Regions from separate parts of the Homo sapiens genome. Here regions 1 and 3 are each linked to region 2. Evidence: promoter capture Hi-C in 16 types of primary human blood cells and fetal thymus (Javierre and others, 2016). All regions are on one chromosome and are shown on one strand. Each heading gives the region's core, a stretch centred on a gene start or on the middle of the fragment in contact. The rest is flanking DNA. Distances are from core to core; before and after follow the strand shown.

Region 1 (4,660 bases), core at 925-3,424, 160 kb before region 2:
AAAGTCCAAGAGTATATGTTTCTCCACCAATCATAACAGTGACTGCATAGTTGTCAAAAACAGTTGGTACATATTTTGATGGAAATTTGTTTGTTGTGTAGGATATCAGGAGACATGTTTTACCAACAGCACCATTGCCCACAAAAACACACTTAATTGTCTGCATTGCTGAAATAAGTTTGTATCCACTTTAAATATTTCAAATCTGATGTTGACCTCAGCTTCTTCACTGGGGCATTAGCAGCACTCTACAGCTTTTCACAACTGGGTAAAGTACCCTCCTGTGAGTAAACTCTGAAGTACATTTCTGTCTACCTGATTTCTGTAGAAATTTGAAAACTATTTGCAAGTATACTTAATTTACGGCAGTATAGTTATTTGCATAAGTTCAATAAGAATGTATTTTCTTTTGTAACAGGACATAATTGGAGACACTGGTTATTTTACCAAAGCTTTGACCGGAAGGATGTACTTTTGGATACAAACAGACTGCTTTAAGGAGTCAAAGCTGACTTATGAAGTTGGCCTCATCCCTTGTCTACACAGTCACTGTACAGAGTTCCTTGCCTGTAGTATGTAAAGAATGTCACTTTCTGACAGGCTCAGGAGCCCCAAATTATCCTGGGACCTTGAGGAGAGGACATTGCCCAATTTATATAGGTATTTTCAGGCACCAATAAATCATGGCTGGGCTCAAGGCTTTAAAAAAAGTCAAATCTGGGATTCGTTATAGAATAAAGTTCCAGCAAAGCCAATTTTAAGACAGGCCTATATGGCAAATAATTATTCGTGCTGACATTATGCAAACACTCAGGCCAAGTATAAGATGAAAAATTATTTTAAATAAATTTGTCCTACTATGATTTGTCTTCAGTAAAAACAGGTACTGGGCTGGGCATGGTGGCTCACAGCTGTAATCCCAGCACACTGGGAGGCCAAGGCAGGCAGATCGCTTGAGGTCAGGAGTTTGAGACCAGCCTGGCCAACATGGTGGTGAAACACCATCTCTACCAAAAAATATAAAAATTAGCCAGGTGTGGTGGCATGTGTCTGTAATCCTAGCTACCCAGGAGGCTGAGGCATGAGAATTGCTTGAACCCAGGAGGTGGAGCTTGCCTGAGTCCTGGTAAGGCACAGACAGAAAGGGTTGTCAGCCATTTTTTTCTGAGGTTATAAGATCTGCAACTTCCCCAGTTATTCCTGCAGATAACACCACTATTGTAGATTGGCTTTTTGAGAAATCTTTTCCAGTGTTTGTGCATGACCGTGGCTCCACCTGGACCCACCTGGACCTGCCAATCCCACTCGTGTGACCCCACCCAGAAGTGACTCAGTCCTTAGGACTCAGCGTTGACCCCCTGTGATTTCATCTCTGCTCTAAGCAATCAGCAGCAAGCACCTATTACCTGGCCTCCCCAACTCCTTCCCCTAAAACTGTCTTTGAACAACCCCTAACCTGTGAGTTTTGCATGAGGTTGTTTGAGTGCTAACTCCATCTCTGTAGCGTGGCCAGCCTTTTGTCTATTAAACTCTTTCCTTATTGCAATGCCATGGTCTTTCTTTATGCAGCAGGCAGGAAGAGCCCCTTCAGTGTTTACAAAGTCTTACCTGCACAGAGAGGTCCCAGAGAGGCTGGCTGGGCACTGGGGATCTGGGGCTACCGTTGTTGATGGTCAATGAGACATGGAGTGGGAGCCTCCCACCCTGACATACCTAAAGAAGACACCACCTCCTATTTGGCAAAAGGTCCTTTCTTCCCACCAGCCTCACACTCCTGGTCCTGACGGCCACCTCCTACCGTGCTAGGGTCCCACACCCTGGGCTTCCTCCACACCAGTCAGTGGTTGGTGTTGGTGGGGAATCTTAGAGTCACCCTCTCAGACTCCCACTGAGGGGGACTGGTCTCCCTGTCCCTGGGGCTAGCCTGGAGCTGGGCCTGCCAGTGGTCACCTGTCTGAGCATGGGTTAGGAGGCTGGGAGGGCTGCCCACCACTCCAGGGCCTGCCTCCAGCTGCCTCCAGTTGCCTCCAGCTGCCTCCAGTTGCCTCCACCCTCAGGCACTCCTGGCCCCATGGTGCTTGAACAGGGCAGGGCAGGCTAGCTGGCTGAGGGCAGGGGGTTCCACGTCAGCGTTCTGAGGACTAAACTCTGGCCCTTTTTTCTTCTTTTGCCCAAATTCCTACCTAAGAGGCCTGGGGAGTGTGCCCTACAGACCGTAGAGTCTCTCAAATGGGTTTTATTTAACCCCACATAACACGGCTGCCTTTCCAGCCTGACTGTGGTGTAGCATCACATGACGGACAAGGAAGGAAATGAGGTATTTTAAATGCATATACGTTTATTTGCCATATCTTGAAGTAGCCGTGCAAAGTTGTCTCTTGTGGGAGAAACATCTACAGTCTGTAGAGAATCCCCTTCTTCTGAGGCCTTTTTCCTGACCCAGGAGAGAATCAGCTAAGGGACTGACACCCTTTTAGATCTGATAAGAAACATTTACATTCCATTCTCCCTGAAGCCTGCTATCTGGAGGCTTTACCTGAATGAGAAGAATCTTGGTGTCGCAATCCCTTATCTTAACCCAGACATTCCTTTCTATGGATTCCAAGTCTTTTTTTTTTTTTTTAGACAAGTCTTGCTCTGTTGCCCAGGCTGGAGGGCAGTGGCGCGATCTTGGCTCACTGCAACCTCTGCCTCCTGGGTTCAAGCGATTCTCCCATCTCAGCCTCCTGAGTAGCTGGGATTACAGGTGTGTGCCACCACACCCAGCTAATTTTTGTATTTTTGTAGAGATTTCTACAAAAATGTCAACACGGGGTTTCACCATGTTAGCCAGGCTGGTCTTGAACTCCTGACCTCAGGTGATCTGCCTGCCTTGGCCTCCCAAAGTGCTGGGATCACAGGCGTGAGCCACTGAGCCCAGCTACAAATGATTTTTTTTTTTTTTTTTGAGACGGAGTCTTGCTTAGTCACCCAGGCTGGAGTGCAATGGTGTGATCTTGGCTCACTGCAACCTCCACCTCCTGGGTTCAAGTGATTCTCCTACCTCAGGCTCCCAAGTAGCTGGGATTACAGGCACCTGCCACCATGCCTGGCTAATTTTTGTACTTTTAGTAGAGATGGGGTTTCACCATGTTGGCCAGGCTGGTTTCGAACTCCTAACCTCAGGTGATCTGCACGCCTTGGCCTCTCAAAGTGCTGGGATTACAGGCGTGAGCCATGGCGACCAGCCATACAAGTGAATTTTTAAAGGCAAAAAGGGGGCAGAGTGTGGCTGATATAACGTTGTTTGTCAGGAATTCTGATTGGTTCACAGAAGTGACATTGCTGGGTGATTGGCTGGACATGGTTAAGCTCCAGGGTGTGGGTTTTCGTTTCCAGTGTGGCATTATCAGGTGAATTCATAGCTGCTGGCAATGGCAACCACCGGAGATGAGTCCATAGCTCAAGGTAGTAGAAGGAAGCACCTGCTGTCTCATGTCAGTATCTCTCTGGGCCTGATAATAGAAAAAGACTCACATTTCTCAGATAATAGTTCTTTTCTTTTCTCACTCCCAGCAGGGTGAGTGGCAGCCTGCTTCCCAGACACCATTGGGCACACAGCCAATTGGAGGGGGAGAGGACCCTGCATTTGAAGCAGGAGCTGGCCTCTGTTGATGCAGGTTCAGTACAGCCCCAGCCCCTTCCTTCCTGCTTGCAGGGACACAGAATCCCTGCAGTTCCCTTTTCCCTGCCCCCACCCACGCCAGCTGGGCTCTGCTATGGCTCAGGGTGGCTCCTCCGGGTCCGCTCTGGCCTTGGGAAGACCCTGCAGGCTTCCTGTGGCTGCTCTCCCCACAGTGCTGACCCCCAGCACCTGATGAGGATGGTTTGCTTGGCCAATCTGTAATCAAGCTTCTGAACCTTCCCCCAGGCCCATCTGTGCCTTTCCTCTACGATTCAATTTTAGCAAGAATCCTGCTAAGTCAGTTTAGCCCAAAACCTGCAGCCTCGATGTCTGATCCCTCTCACGTCTGATGGGGTTTCTCATCCTTTACCCAGGGCCAACCTGGGAGACTGAAGCAGGGGTCTCCATCAGCTGAAGCTTGTTGAGCCACAGCTTGAGGGCATGGTCGGGAAAAATGTGGGCCCAGAAGCTTCTGTGGCCCGTGTCCTCTGAGGAGGTCTGTAGGGGGCTCAGTATAAACACGTTTCTTTAACCGGGAGAAGGAGCGCAGGAAGAGGGGGCAGGCGTTTAGGCAAATTGGTTTCATTAACGAGTGCCCAACAGTAATCCGTGGGCAAACATTGCTGGGGATGAGGGGAGGCAAAGGAAGAGTTAATCCTGCTGACCTCTGGTCTCAGGTAGGCAGAGGAATCTCACCTGGCCTTTGTTCTGCACCTGGGAAGGTCCGCTTGGAATCCAGCTTGTCGGTGTGCATTCTAACAGACTAGCTTTGGGGACCGGGTGTTGCAGGCTAAAGTTGCAGTTGAGGTGTTCTTTTCTTGTTTATGGAAAGATAAACATCTTGGAAGGTTGGGCCAGCAAAGAGTGCTATGAATGTGGAGGCTATGGTCGGCCTGGGGCCCTGCCCCTCTCCTCAGCTCCTGGGGGCTGTCAGAACACCCGGTGCTTCCAGTTGCTCAGGGAGCGCCCAGGGTCACTGCTTTGTTCTTGGAGGCC
Region 2 (4,474 bases), core at 1,781-4,280:
AAGTAGAATCCCCCCCAGTGTGGCAGATCCCAGGAGACAGAGTGCCCCTAGAAGGAGCCTGCCACAGTCATACCACTGGTCTCCATCATAAGCCAGTGGCCCCGATGGAACAGGTGTGTGGGATGAGGTTCAAGGGGAAAGTCAAAGCCTAGACAGGGAAACCTGTCCGAGCTGAGGATTCGGTGTGAAAGGTGAGCATACAAATTGGGTCACCCTTGTCACACCCAACTAAGGCAGAGTGCCAGGTAGGGAGACCATTCAGCACTCAGGATAGAAAACATTGCTCCAAGAATGTACTTCTCTGAGGCCTGACTGCTGAAACTGCCTGCGGTAACCTGAAACCAGTTTTATCTGATGGCTACTGAGACCACCTGCTGCAACTCTAAGCCTCGGTTCACCCACTGCTGTCACTGATTCACTCATCAACCAGAGCTTGCCAGCTCCCCAAAATCCTACTAGTGCCAATGAAACTCAGACAGCAATATGTACTATTTCTCTTCTTTATAAAAAAGAGACATAGTTTCTTTTTTTGAAACAGAGTCTCGCTCTGTCCTGCAGGTTGGAGTTGGAGTGCAATGGCGTGATCTCGGCTCACTACAACCTCCACCTCCAGGGTTCAAGCAGTTCTCCTGCCTCAGCCTCCTGAGTAGCTGGGACTATGGGCGCACGCCACTACGCCCAGCTAATTTTTGTATTTTTAGTAGAGACGGGGTTTCACTATGTTGGCCACGCTGGTCTTGAACTCCTGACCTCAAGTGATCTGCCTGCCTCAGCCTCCCAAAGTGCTGGGATTACAGGTGTGAGCCACTGCAAATTTTAAAAATCCTTCTCTTTGTTCTTTGGACATACTGAATGCCAGCCCGTCTACCCCCATGCCCCTAATTACAATTATTTCCTCCGAAAGAAAAGATTTCAATTTCAGAAAGTCATCTATTTTATTTGACTTCAACACGAGACAAGCCACACTCTGTAGGAGAAGGGGAAGGGCACCGCTCAAGATGGCTTCAGTTAGGGTTAGAGACAGGGCCGGCTCCAGAGGCAGCCAGGGTCAGGTTGAAGCTGCAAGCATCCCACTTGGCCTCCACCTTTGAGCAAGCCAGTAGTCCAGGCCTTCCCACAGGCTCCTGGAGAGAGGAGAGGGCACACATCCCCAGTAGTAACATACAACCACCTCCAAGCTTTCCAGCTATTTTGTACGCAACGCAAGATGTTCAATAAAAACATCACAGGATATGTAAGAATTAGGAATAAATTATTGCTAATCAATAAAACAACAATAGAAATAAACCCACAGTTCACTCAAATGTTGACATTAGCATACAAGTACTTTAAAAATTCTAATGAGAGCATTAAAGAGAAAAAGATTACTAAATTGATTTTTTAAAGATGAAAAAATTTTAAAAATAACAGGATGTGTAAGAGGCAGAAATAAGGGACTATAGTATGAATTATTTCTACACCACCATACTTCTGACCCTAAATATGTGAGTTTTTACACACAAACCAGTTCTCCAACTCTCTGGACACTGACCGTCCAACATTTCAATTCAATTCTGACACTGCCTTGAGCAGGGCAGACCCCACAGGTGAAGGGCTCAGTCCCACCCTAATGCCCCCACTTCAGATGCCAATCACAAGTCTGGGCCACGTGTACTTCTGACTGCCCAGTTATAAATCAAGGGTTTCCAAGACCACCTCCTCCTAGATAATTTGCTAGAACAGCTTACAGAGCACAAGAAAACAGTTTACTTACTATTACCAGTTTATCACAAAGGTGACAACTCAGGAACCGTGAAACGGAAGAGATGCATGGGGCAAATACAGGGTAAGCTTAAGATGGCTTCAGACAAAAAGAGTAGGAATATCTTATTATCAGCAGACCCACTACAAGAAATATTGAGTTCATAACATATATAGAAATAAAGTATATGACAATATCACAAAGCAAAGGAGGCTGTAGAACTGAAAGGCAGAAACAGTTACGTCAGCGTCGGCGAGTGCAGGCTTCCAGGCAAAAAACATTGCAAGAGGTGACAAGGACAGACACTTCAGAGCCGAATGCAGTTTCGGACACTGAGAGTCCATTTTCTGACTATGGTGGCATTAAGCAATAAGTCACCCCAGAAGGATTAACTGGAAAATCCTCATCTGTTTGGAACTTAAGAACACACCTCCAAATAAGAAATAGACCCCCAAATCCTTCTCAATAGAAGTCAAGAATATTTTGGGCAAAGTCATAATAAAGAATGAAAAATAGAAACCTGGCAGAAGTAGCCTGAAGGGACACGGAAGGAAAAGCAGGGCTCCATTAGAAAAGGCAAAAAGACTGGAAACGAAGGCCTCCTTCTCTCCTTCGAAAGCAAGGAGCCAGAAAAGAACGAGCAGCAGAACGTGGAACAGGCTGCGGCCCGAGACCCGCGCCTTGGGGAATCACAGACAGTGTGGGGGTGGGCGGCCCCGGGACACCCCGAGGGAAGGGGACTCAAGAACTGAACGGAGCCCCAGCCCCAGACTCTCGAGGGAAGTTGAGCTGTAAGGGGAGGGGGGCCCCAGGGAAGCGGAGTTGGGGTGCTGGCATCTCCCTGGGACCCCTGAGCATAGTTGGGGGGTCTCCCTGGGACCCTGATGGGAGTGGAGCTCGAGAGGTCCCCCAGTACCCCTGAGAGGAGCTGAATTAGGGGGTCTCCCTGGGACCCTGAGGGGAATGGAGCAGGGGGCGTCTCCCCAGGAACCTGCGGGGAGTGGAGTTTTGAGGGGTCCCCCTGGCACCCCTGAGAGGAGCTGAGTTCGGGGGGTCTCCCTGGGGCTCCGAGGGGAGTGGGGGCACCCCATCCAGGGAAGCGCGGCGCACCCCCGGCGGCGTCCTGGCGGCCCAAGCAGCTGACGAGGAGGCTGCCTCAGCTGGGCCCCTGGGCAGACTCCAGTCTCACGCCTGGGTCCCGACCCGCCTCAGGAAACTGACCTGTGCCCCTCGGAGCCCCGCAGTGTGCGTGCCCGCCGCCTCCAGCCATCTGAGCCTCCCGCGCCGACCTCCCCACCCGCTTTCTGGAACTTTCGGGGGCCTCCGCCGGCCGCACAGCCCCGCCCTCCTTCCGGACCCTCAAAGCCCCGTCCCCAGGCTCCAGGCCTCCAGCCCATCTGCCAGTGTTCAAAGGTGGGCAGGGTCCCCCTTGGGGCTCCCAGGTGAAAATATTTCTCACAGAAATCTGCACACCCTGGCTCCATCCACGCTCCCTTTAGGAAAGCCACGGGGAATGTTCTAGAAGCGCACGGCCCTGGCTGCTGGAGAAACGGGACAGCAGCCACCCTCGGCAGCCTGTTGGCACCGCCCAGGCCCACCCTGCCCTCAAGGTCCCAGTCCACCTGCCTCGTTCCTGGACCCTCCCTCTAGGGGGTCCCGCCATCACCATAACCCCTGGGGACCCCGGGAGCCCCTCCGCTCAGGGTGCGACCCCGTCGCCTCTGGAGCCGGCCCTGTCCCTAACCCTGACCAAAGCCAGCTTGAGCGGTGCCCTTGCCCTTCAGCCCCGCCAGCGCCCACCTGTGCAGAGGTTTCAGGGGGAGACCTGCCTGGCTTTCGCTTGAGCTCCTGCCATTTTGCCTTCAAGCTGTGTGTGGCCAGGGACAGCTGGCTTCACCCGAGCATCTCCTACACAGTGTGGCTTGGCTCTTGTCGAAGTCATATAAAATAGGTGAATTTCTGAAATTGAAATGTTTTATTTGGGAGGAAATAACTGCAATTAGGGGCACGGGGGCAGACTGGCTGGCCTTCAGTATGTCCAAAGAACAAAGAAAAGGCTTTTTTAAATTCGCGGTGGCTTACACCTGTAATCCCAGCATTTTGGGAGGCTGAGGCGGGCAGATCATTTGAGGTCAGGAGTTCAAGACCAGAGTGATCAACATGGTGAAACCCCGTCTCTACTAAAAATACAAAAATTAGCTGGGTGTGGTGGTGTGTGCCTGTAGTCCCAGCTACTCAGGAGGCTGAGGCAGGAGAATCCCTTGATCCCAGGAGGTGGAGGTTGTAGTGAGCCGAGATCGTGCCATTGTGCTCCAACCTGCAGGACAAATCAAGTCTCTGTCTCAAAAAAAAAGGAACTATGTCTCTTTTTTATAAAGAAGAGAAATAGTACATATTGCTGTCTGAGTTTCATTGGCACTAGTAGGATTTTGGGGAGCTGGCAAGCTCTGGTTGATGAGTGAATCAGTGACGGCAGTGGGTGAACCGAGGCTTAGAGTTGCAGCAGGTGGTCTCAGTAGCCATCAGATAAAACTGGTTTCAGGTTACCGCAGACAGTTTCAGCAGTCAGGCCTCAGAGAAGTACATTCTTGGAGCAATGTTTTCTATCCTGAGTGCTGAATGGTCTCCCTACCTGGCACTCTGCCTTAGTTGGGTGTGACAAGGGTGACCCAATTTGTATGCTCACCTTTCACACCGAATCCTCAGCTCGGACGGGTTTCCCTTTCTAGGCTT
Region 3 (4,424 bases), core at 1,181-3,680, 200 kb before region 2:
TCCCCAATCAATACCCTTGTGATTTCCTATGCCTGTCTTTAATCTTTTAATCCCATCATCTTCGTAAGCTGAGGAGGATGTATATTGCCTCAGGACCCTGTGATGATTGTGTTAACTGCACAAATTGTTTGCAGAGCATGTGTGTTTGAACAATATGAAATCTGGGTACCTTGAAAAAAGAACAGGGTAACAGCAACGTTCAGGGAACAAGAGAGATCACCTTAAACTCTGGTTGCCTGTGAGCCAGGTGAAACAGAGCCATATTTCTCTTCTTTCAAAAGCAAATAGGAGAAATATCGCTGAATTCTTTTTCTCAGCAAGGAACATCCCTGAGAAAGAGAATGTATCCCTAAGGGGAGGCCTCTGAAATGTCTGCTTTGGGGACGGCTGCCTTTTACAGTTGTAGATAAGGGATGAAATAAGCCCCAGTCTCCCGCAGTGCTCCCAGGCTTATTAGGATGAGGAAATTCCCGCCTAATAAATTTTGGTCAGACTGGTTGTCTGCTCTCAAACCCTGTCTCCTGATAAGATGTTATCAATGACAATGTGTGCCCAAAACTTCATTAGCAATTTTAATTTCGCCCCGGTCCCGTGGTCCTGTGATCTCGCCCTGCCTCCGTTTGCCTTGTGATATCTTATTACCTTGTGAAGCATGTGATCTCTGTGACCCACATCCTATTTGTACACTCCCTCCCCTTCTGAAAATCACTAATAAAAATTTGCTGGTTTTACGGCTCAGGGGGCATCACGGAACCTGCCGACATGTGATGTCTCCCCCGGACGCCCAGCTTTGAAATTTCTCTCTTTTGTACTCTGTCCCTTTATTTCTCAGACTGGCCGACACTTAGGGAAAATAGAAAAGAACCTACATGAAATATCGGGGGTGAATTTCCCCCGATAGATGACCATCTCAGCCTGGGGTCAGGGCAGGGCTCAGAATGGTCTGGGTGGACGGCCGTCTCAGCCTGGAGTCAGGGCAGGGCTCAAGGTCTGGGTGAATGGCCATCTCAGCCTGGAGTCAGGGCTGGGCTCAGACGACCAGCAGTCTTTGACCTGCCATGCCGGGAGCCACATCTCGTGACCAGGTCCTGGCCTTCCACGCTGGCCAGACGCCTGCATCCAAGACGTCCTGGTCCCTCTGACTGCACAGTGTGACAGCCACCACCCAGCCATGCCCTGTACTCCTGGATGTGATTTGCTAATTAGGGTCAATGGGGTAAGATGCCCAATTAAATATGAATTTCAGATAAACAATTTTTAGCATAAGTATGTCCCAAACATTGGTAAAAATGACTATTTGTTGTTTATCTGAGATTCAGATCAAACTGGGCATCTTGGACATTTTATTTGCTCAACTAGAAATTCATGAGTGCCTAAGGAGCTCAAGGGACATTCCAGACCCCCCAAATCTGTGTCGGACACAGGGGCAGTCACAATGGGGTGCAGTGGTTGTACCTGGTGACTCAGGACATTCGTCTACCTCCTCATGTCCCCCCTGCCTCTAGCACCACAGTGTCATGCCCTACCCTCCAGGGGGCCCAGAAAGCAGTGCTTTTGCCCAGGGCCATTGTCCCCTAGATAGAGGGTTCAGCCCAAGGAGGGCAGCCCTGATTCCCAAGCCTCCTGCAGCACTGACTCTCCACTGCAGCAGGCCTGGGGTTTCTGGCCATGGCTCGCCTTTGGCTCACCTCTCCAGAAGGTCTCTGGAAGCTTCTTCCCCACAGGGTCCTCCCTTCCACTGTAACCTTCCCTGGTTCTGGGAAACAAACTTGAGAGGCCCAGGCGCACCCCACCTCTTCTCTTTAGGTCTCCACAGCTTTTCCTCTGCCTCGTCCCCAAGGGGATCACTCTGGCCTTTCCCCTCTCCAGTGACCCTCTCCACACCCTCCCGGCTTCCCCCTTCCTCTGAGCACCCCAGATGCCAAAGGACAAGGTGAGGGAGCCTTTGGAGAAATGTTGCCTGACGTCACTGGTCCCCCACGCTCGGGGGACCCACACGGCCCGCCCTGCAGGCAGCCCCCTCCCCGCAGGCAGCCCCCTCCCCGCAGGCCGCCCCCTCCCCACCTCACCTCACAGCTGCAGGGGTCGGGGCTCGGAAGTGCTGGGGGCAGTTCAGGTTGAAGGCTGGGCAGCGTGCACTTCTCCCCCAGCCTCCTGGGGCCCGGGCATCACCGGAAGCGGAGTTTGTTCCCACTTTGTATCAGTCGCAAAGAAAGAGCACCCAATTGGACAAAAGGCAAGCAGGCTGCGTTCCTGGCCCGGAGTGGAGAAGAGTGAGCCCCTGCCCTGTCAGGGAAGCTGAGGCTGGGGGTTGTGAGGAGTCCCGTGCCGGGAGGAGGCTGCAGGAGCGCCTCAATGCACCTCTTGATACCACGCATGCTTAGCAAGGCCTGGGGACTGTCCTCTCGGGCAGGACTTCCGCCTTGTAATGACATGTCGCTGATTTAAAGGGAACTGGGGGTCACCAGCTCTGGTTTGTGCAAGTCTGGTGCGTTCTTATCTCCCTTGTATTTGGCAGGGGATCCTAAACCTCTCCTGGTATGTTGAGACATCTGGAGCTCATTAAGCCTCGGCGCCTGTAGATAAAGAGATTAAAGGAAAAAAGAAAAGAAATCCCGCCCTGGGGCAGCTGGGGTAGGATTAGCCTGGAGGCCACGCCTCTGCAGGGTCTCCCATAGGCTGGGCCAGCCTCTGCCCTCCCTGCTTCCAGAACCCCGGACGCTGATGGCCTGTGGCGGCCACTCTCCGCCCACCCCGGAGCCCAGCCTAGCGGGGAGAAGGCCGCCGGCCCGTTCGAATGTCCCTCTGCTTCCAGGGTCAGCCTGCACGCCACTCTCACAGAGGCCAGACGGGCGGTGGGGCGGGGACTCAGTTCATCCTCTGCCTGAGGAGCAGGTCTCGGGTGCGACTGAGCTTTTCACCCTTTGAGAGGAGTCAGGGACACGCAGCGTCTCCAGCAAGCTGGTGGCAGAAACTGATGGAGCATCCTAATCACAAAATAGGAAGAGAGTTTGCAAAATAGGAGCATTTACCAGAAGCCTCTCTCTCTCCCTCCCTCCCTCCCTCCCTCTCTCTCTCTCTCCCTCTCTCTCTCTCTCTCTCTCTCTCTCTCTCTCTCTCTCTCTCTCTCTCTCTCTCTCTCTCTCTCTCTCTCTCTCTCTCCCTCCCTCCCTCTCTCCCTCTCTCTCTCCCTCCCTCCCTCTCTCTCTCCCTCCCTCCCTCTCTCCCTCCCTCCCTCTCTCTCTCTCTGTGTGTCTCTCAAGTAGAAGTGGGGTCTCTATGTTGCCCAGGCTGCTCTCGAACTCCGAGGCTCAAGCGATCCTCCTGCCTCAGCCTCCCAAAGTGCTGCGATTACAGGTGTGAACTACTGGGCCCAGCCCCAGGCCCTCTTACAGGAGTGGGCTGCCTAGAAACATTCCAGTGCCATATCCCACTCCACTCCGGGTGCAGGGACAGGACCCCTGCCACCCCCAACCCAGGCCCAAAAGGAGGGGCCAGGAGGGGAGGGGCCACCAAGGCAGGTGAGCTGCTTAAGAGGAGCGAGGGCTGTGGACAGTCCTGCGGACTGCAGGAGGGGCCAGCAGGATCAATATCCAGCTTCTCTCTCCTGCTGGGCTCCTGCTGGGGCTCCCTGTTGGTCACCCCAAAACCTACTGTCTCTCATCGCTGCCGGGGCTGGCCAGGCTCAGCTGCTGGTTCTGCCTTGGGGCACCTCCTAGGTGGAGTCAGGGTGGCTGAAGGCTTCCCCACTCATGCGTCCACTGTCTGGACATCCTGCCCCTGCCCGACCTCCAGGAGTTGCAGTGTGTGAAGGCCACACCACAGCCCCTCTCTGCTGCCTCCCTCATGTCTCCTCCAGAATGATGCTCTTAACCCCCTCATTAGAGGCCCCCATCCTTCCCAACTGTACCTCTTGACACCCTGAGTACAGTTCAAGAGACCCTGAAGAAACTCAGAAAAGTGACAACTGGAGGCTCTGGGAGAGAAGAGTGAAGTCACTCACATTTGTTTTTATTTACTTATTTTTTTTTTAGAGATGAGGTCTTGCTTTGTTGGCCAAGCTGGTCTCTTGAACTCCTGGCCTCAAATGATCCTCCCATCTTGGTCTCCCAAAGTGTTGAGATTACAGGTGTGAGCCATTCTCTCCGGCTTACTCTGCGTTTTACAGGATGGGATGTGTTGATGAAAGAAAGCCAAACTCTAAAATATTTGAAGAGGTTTATTCTGAGCCAAATGTGAGGACCATGACCTCACATGACAGAGACTCAGGAGGTTCGGGGAACATGTGCCCAAGGTGGCCGGGGTACAGCTCGATTTTATACCCTTTAGGGAGAAAGAAGTTACAGGATGAGATGGTTTGGATTTGTGTCCCCGCCCAGATCTCATGTGGAATTGGCGGAGGGGCCACGTGGGAGGTGATTGGA

Evidence for each region. Contacts are between HindIII fragments. The CHiCAGO score rates a contact against its expected background, and 5 or more counts as called.
Region 1: a contact is called between a fragment that was not itself captured here and the fragment with the promoter of GML in region 2, in 1 of 17 cell types (naive CD8 T cells). The highest score is 5.1, in naive CD8 T cells.
Region 3: a contact is called between the fragment with the promoter of LY6S-AS1 here and the fragment with the promoter of GML in region 2, in 2 of 17 cell types (naive CD4 T cells and total CD8 T cells). The highest score is 6.9, in naive CD4 T cells.

Annotation. Positions count from the first base shown.
Region 1 is chr8:142,991,416-142,996,075 of GRCh38, reverse strand. All of the region lies in intron 1 of LY6E-DT (LY6E divergent transcript), which reads left to right. It also overlaps the pseudogene CDC42P3. Among named protein-coding and RNA genes, the nearest start is that of LY6E-DT, 25 kb to the left of the region's middle. RefSeq lists an enhancer at 3,266-3,773. The HindIII fragment of the contact is 3,439 bases long and covers 455-3,893 here.
Region 2 is chr8:142,833,357-142,837,830 of GRCh38, reverse strand. It overlaps GML (glycosylphosphatidylinositol anchored molecule like), which reads right to left and starts at 3,030. Exons shown (of 4, transcript NM_002066.3): 1 at 2,963-3,030. The HindIII fragment of the contact is 21,811 bases long and covers 1,833-4,474 here.
Region 3 is chr8:143,037,215-143,041,638 of GRCh38, reverse strand. LY6S-AS1 (LY6S antisense RNA 1) reads right to left here and starts at 2,430. Exons shown (of 6, transcript NR_149322.1): 1 at 2,070-2,430. LY6S (lymphocyte antigen 6 family member S) reads left to right here. Exons shown (of 4, transcript NM_001406478.1): 4 at 1-800. RefSeq lists enhancers at 1-185, 2,207-2,758. The HindIII fragment of the contact is 8,465 bases long and covers 1,713-4,424 here.